Linked DNA regions of Homo sapiens: region 2 is linked to region 1. Evidence: promoter capture Hi-C in human tissues and cell types (Jung and others, 2019). All regions are on one chromosome and are shown on one strand. The core of a region is centred on a gene start or on the middle of the fragment in contact, and the rest is flanking DNA. Distances in the headings are between cores, read along the strand shown. Region 1 holds the start of NKX2-1 (NK2 homeobox 1). Region 2 has its middle 76 kb from the start of NKX2-1-AS1.

Region 1 (2,766 bases), core at 126-2,625:
ATTATAGAAGTTGGCTTTGTATTGAGGGAGTAAGAGCTCTCTTCAAGGAGAGGGCTGAAATCTTTAAAAATAAATAAAACTTTCTCTACTGTAATTGCTATTAATAAAAAAAGGGAGCCCGGATGAATTAAGTAGCTCAAAACTGCCTGTTCGTCATGATCAGGAGCTCCTTCTCTACAAGGAGGGGAAAGAAAATGTGAAAACAAAAACTAAATTCAAGAAGCTCCTTGACCAGCGCGGGTGTCTTGGAGGCACCTGCCGGGGCCGGCCGGGGAGCGCTCCGCCCTCCCAGCCCCTGGCGCGCAGAGGAGACTAAAACAGCTAAGGAGAAAGCAAAACAAAAACAATGATAAAAACGTTTAAAATCCAAGGACAAAAACCGGAGTCGGTCTCAAAATCCGCGCCGTTCAGTGCTCCACTCGGTAGTCGACTCGGCTGCAGGCCCCGGCCTGGCCGGAGCAACGCGGGGGACACCCCCGATTCCGCTGGGGAGCGCAGCCCACAGCTCCCCCTCGCCAGGCGCCCAAGGACCCTCAAGGCGCGGGGCCCACACTTGAAGCCTGGGAACGCGCAGACAGGAAACCCTCTTCCTCCTAAGCAGTTTCTTGCTCGTCGGATGAGAGGCGCCCAATTGAAGCAGAATGATCCTCATCTACTAATATCCAGCGTGGCCACAAAGCGACTGGCCATTTACGCCACCACTTTAAACAAAGATATTTGGTTATTCCCGGGAAGCAAGAGCACTTTTGCATGGCTGAGCTGCGGGCGGAGGCGAGCCTCGGCCCAGCCTCCCGCCCGCTGAGCTGCCCGCACCTCGGCATTCGCCCCCTCCTGGCCAGCGCTCCAGCCGCCGGGGTTCAGGCTCAGTTCCGCCCGGCAACAGACAGACGGGCACTCACGCCGCTCCCTGCTCGCGCGCTCCCTGAAGCATCAGAGGGGAAAACAGCGTGGCTCTGGGCTCGGGTGCTGGGGCTGTGATGTCCTCGGAAAGTCAGCTCCAGCCCCAGATCCCCGCGTGTCTGGGAGATGGGCGAGGGTCAGGGACACCAGGTTTGTTCGAGGTGGGGCAACTTCAGTGACGGACCCTCCCGTGAGACCCCTTCCCATCCTCCCAGCTCTGGGGGCCAGTGCTGTGTTTGCTCGGCCGGGGGTGGGGGGGGGGGGGGAAGACCTTGGGGGAGGCGTGTTAGCGGGGGTGGCCCACTGAAAAACCCCTGAGCTGCGGGGGCGGGTTGTGGCTCGGGGATCCGGGACAGCCTCCGGGAGGCAGTCGATCCCCTACTCAGCGCCCCCTCCGCCCGCTCGGATTCTCTCCGGTAGGGGGAAAGGGGGCGGGGAGCAGAGGTGTCCCTCTGACGGCGGCAGAAGAGAGGCAGACAGACTGACAGACACGTAGACCAACAGTGCGGCCCCAGGGTTCGTCCCCAGACTCGCTCGCTCATTTGTTGGCGACTGGGGCTCAGCGCAGCGAAGCCCGATGTGGTCCGGAGGCAGTGGGAAGGCGCGGGGCTGGGAGGCCGCGGCGGGAGGGAGGAGCAGCCCCGGCAGGCTCAGGTGAAACCCCCACCCTGTCCCTCAGCCCCCTCCTCCTAAAGACCTGTCCGTGCCCGGGGAACCCCGACCGAATTGGAAAGTGGTTCCACTTTGTAACTCCGCAAGTTGGTTGCAAAGCAGCATTCACCTTCCTTCCTCTCAACCATCTCTCCTCCTCTGTTACTCCCCCACCCCACCTCCTGCCCTCCCCGCTCTCGGTTCCCTCCTCCTTCCCCTCCCCTCCACCTCCTCCCCGCGCTCCGCTGGTACCCCACAAAAAATGGGGGTGGGGGTGTCCAAGGGAGGGGGGAAATGCTTTGGGTCTCGTCTCTGCCTCTCTCTCTCTCTCTTTGAGACCTAAAAATCCTGACAAGTGAAACTTAAAGGTGTTTACCTTGTCATCAGCATGTAAGCTAATTATCTCGGGCAAGATGTAGGCTTCTATTGTCTTGTTGCTTTAGCGCTTACGCCCCGCCTCTGGTGGCTGCCTAAAACCTGGCGCCGGGCTAAAACAAACGCGAGGCAGCCCCCGAGCCTCCACTCAAGCCAATTAAGGAGGACTCGGTCCACTCCGTTACGTGTACATCCAACAAGATCGGCGTTAAGGTAACACCAGAATATTTGGCAAAGGGAGAAAAAAAAAGCAGCGAGGCTTCGCCTTCCCCCTCTCCCTTTTTTTTCCTCCTCTTCCTTCCTCCTCCAGCCGCCGCCGAATCATGTCGATGAGTCCAAAGCACACGACTCCGTTCTCAGTGTCTGACATCTTGAGTCCCCTGGAGGAAAGCTACAAGAAAGTGGGCATGGAGGGCGGCGGCCTCGGGGCTCCGCTGGCGGCGTACAGGCAGGGCCAGGCGGCACCGCCAACAGCGGCCATGCAGCAGCACGCCGTGGGGCACCACGGCGCCGTCACCGCCGCCTACCACATGACGGCGGCGGGGGTGCCCCAGCTCTCGCACTCCGCCGTGGGGGGCTACTGCAACGGCAACCTGGGCAACATGAGCGAGCTGCCGCCGTACCAGGACACCATGAGGAACAGCGCCTCTGGCCCCGGATGGTACGGCGCCAACCCAGACCCGCGCTTCCCCGCCAGTAAGTGAGGCCGCCCCACTGCGGGGCCGCGGGCTGAGCTCAGGAGGTGCGGCGAGAGCCGTCCAGAAGGCGCGGCGCCGGCAGGCTGCGCGCTGGGCATCAGGGAGGGCGGCCCGGCAGCGGCGCCAGGGACTTGGGTGCGGG
Region 2 (2,766 bases), core at 99-2,598, 77 kb after region 1:
AAGTGCTGGAATTACAGATGTGAACCACTGTGCCAGGCCTGATTTTTTTTCTTTGGAGTGGATTTCTAGAGAAGTACCAAAGCTTCAGGAAGACCCACAGGAGTAAAAATCGTAAAAGAAAAATAATAAAGACCAGAGTCCAAGTTAACTTTCACTGATTGGCTCCATTTTGAAACCCTTGGCAATCAGCATCATTATAAAATCCAATTCAGGTTGAGCATCCTTAATCTGAAAATCCAAAACCCAAAATGCTCCAAAATTTAAAACTTTTTGAGTACTCACATGACGCCACAGTGGAAAAGTCTTAACACTTTAAAAAAAGTCTTAATAGCACTTAACACAAACATTGTTCTATGCACAAAATTAGTATCGTATTGTCTAAAATTACCTTCAGGCTATGTCTATAAGGTGTATATGAAACGTAAATAAATTTAATGTTGAGACCTGAGTCTCATCCCAAGAGACCTCATTATGTATATGCAAATAGTCCAAAATCCAAAAATATCCAAAACATGTCTAGTCCCAAGGATATTCAACCTGTATAGTACAAAAGCTATGTTAAAGAAAGATATTAAATCTATAATACCTTGGGTAGTATGTTTATATCAAAAGTGTGTTTATTTGATAAATTTAGATGTAATCCCTGGGTGTTAGCTACTTTGCAATTTATCAGGAAAAGGCTCCACTCTATAACCATGTCAGATTTGAAGCACAGGAAAAGACGGGCTCAGGCTTAGGAAGGAGGTAACTGAAGCAGAGAAAGGGAATCTTTTACTGCCTACACCCCTTTGTTATTTGTGAGCTTCCAAGGGCTCTGGGAAGGTCGTGGGGAAGCAAGGGGCCTAGAGATGGGGGACTTCGTGCTGGAAAATGGGCTGCTTGCTGGGTGGGAAGTGGGGGTGCCTGATCCTGGCGTGGGAGGTCGGGCGTGGGGGGACTTGAATGAATGCCTGGGGGTTGGACTGGGAGAATAAAGCCATGAAGGGACTGTTCTCATTAAAGAATCCATTTCCCATTTTCAGCAGTTTGCTACATTAACAAGCTGAGCCATGAAAGGATTAGATCCGCTAAGTGAGTGCCTGTTCTGTGCACCATTGCAAAACACATTTCAGAAAGCAGTGGATTCGCCTTAAATGAGTATCTGCTGGAGGAGCAAAGCCCTAGGAAAACAAAGGGGCACGCCAGGGTAAGCTAATAATTCCTGCTGTGCTTTGAGGGCAATGAAATGACTGCAACCCTGAGAACTTTTTCTCCCTCCCCTGCAGTTGGTATAAACATAAGAGCCATTTTGATGATCATATCGACACCTCAGCAACAAGTGCTTCCCAGGTGCCAACAAAATGTCACTTTCCAAAGGGTTAAATGAACCAAAAGACCTCACCCTCAAATATTCTTTTTCTGCATCCATTTAGCATGCATACCTATTAAGCAAAACAATGGGCATAGATTCATATCCTGTCTACAAATAATCGAATGATACAAGAACAAATCTACCACCAGCTGCTTTGTCCCATGCTATGCTTTGACTGGGAGGGGAAAGCCAAGTTTTGAGCTGGGTCTAGCCTGACTCAGGCCTTAACTTGTGAGTCCTGCTATTCTAACCCTTTCTCTTGATCTGCTTTTCAGCCTGTCTCAGAGCACACAGCTCAGAGCAGCAGGGAAGTTGCTTAGCAAAGGGCCACCCACTTGCCTATTATTCCTTCCTCGCCTGTGACATGACACAAGAACAAAGTAGACATTAACCGCTACATTAAACCCAGAAAGAAAGTAATCAGTAACCTGTTATTCCCTTAATAAAGGGAAACACATGCAGTGTGAAATCCAGAAGACTAATCAATAGCCGCAGACAATGCAATGTGCCAAACAAATTGCAAATCAATTAGAATCCTTGTTTTCTTTGAAATGGTTCACTATATCTAAAGCAATTACTCCTTCATTAGACCTAATTTAACAGCATGACTACCCTGGCTACAACTGGCAGCGTCTGGCTATCAAATGGAAGAATGGCAGCTTATTTCTGTCTGTCTGTGAGTCTAGCACCAATCAAGAAAAAAAATGAATTCCTTTATATGAGAGAAACTTTTAATGAATGGGTGGATATTTGTTTTAATCCAAATATCGGTACCAGAATGAGAGTTCCCTGCTCCCCCCAGGGAAGTTAAAAGAGAAAAGAACTAAAGAATTATTGAATAAAAATCTGTACTTTAAAAATGTATTTTTTTCTTCTTTCTATGGGAGTTTCAACTAGATTAAAATGGAATTTAAGTATGTAAAGTCCTTCCAGCTCTTCAAATCTAACACAGCACTTGTTACTAGTTTTTGGACTTTTGAAAAGAGAATCCTGGTTCTTATTGAATTTGGAGTATTCTTGCAAATGATCACCAAAAAAAAAGCACTAGTTCACTTATTACTAAAGCTATTTAAAAATAGTTTTATTGAGCAATGTATAATACAATCCACTCATTTTAATTGTAAATGTAGTAAATTTTGGCAAATGTATACAATCATGTAACCACCACCTTAATTGTGATGTGGAATCTTTCTGTCACCCCAGTAAATTCCCGTGCGCCCCTTTGCAGTCAATCCCCTCCCCCAGCCCTGGAGGCAACCGCGGATCTGCTTTCTGTCAGTCCATTGCACTTTTAAGAACAGTTTCCCATCCTCTGGAAGTATAGGACTAGAAAAAATAATTGAAATAAGGTTTTTCTACCAGTTTGAGAAAAATGGTTTCATTCTTGTTTGAGGCAGCAAGCAAAGAACTGAAGG

What was found. The method cuts DNA at HindIII sites, captures the fragments that hold promoters and counts their contacts. A contact is called where the count stands out against the background at its distance.
Region 2: a contact is called between a fragment that was not itself captured here and the fragment with the promoter of NKX2-1 in region 1, in 4 of the 25 tissues and cell types used here (H1 embryonic stem cells, hippocampus, neural progenitor cells and 1 more).

What each region holds. Positions count from the first base shown.
Region 1 is chr14:36,518,841-36,521,606 of GRCh38, reverse strand. NKX2-1 (NK2 homeobox 1) reads left to right here and starts at 1,375. Exons shown (of 3, transcript NM_001079668.3): 1 at 1,375-1,554; 2 at 2,237-2,622. The coding sequence starts at 1,478. It overlaps SFTA3 (surfactant associated 3), which reads left to right and starts at 2,051. Exons shown (of 5, transcript NR_161365.1): 1 at 2,051-2,139. NKX2-1-AS1 (NKX2-1 antisense RNA 1) reads right to left here and starts at 2,329. Exons shown (of 2, transcript NR_103710.1): 1 at 1,928-2,329. RefSeq lists enhancers at 1-959, 960-1,959. The HindIII fragment of the contact is 7,239 bases long and covers 1-2,766 here.
Region 2 is chr14:36,441,941-36,444,706 of GRCh38, reverse strand. No RefSeq gene overlaps it. Among named protein-coding and RNA genes, the nearest start is that of NKX2-1-AS1, 76 kb to the left of the region's middle. RefSeq lists an enhancer at 1-2,750. The HindIII fragment of the contact is 5,707 bases long and covers 1-2,766 here.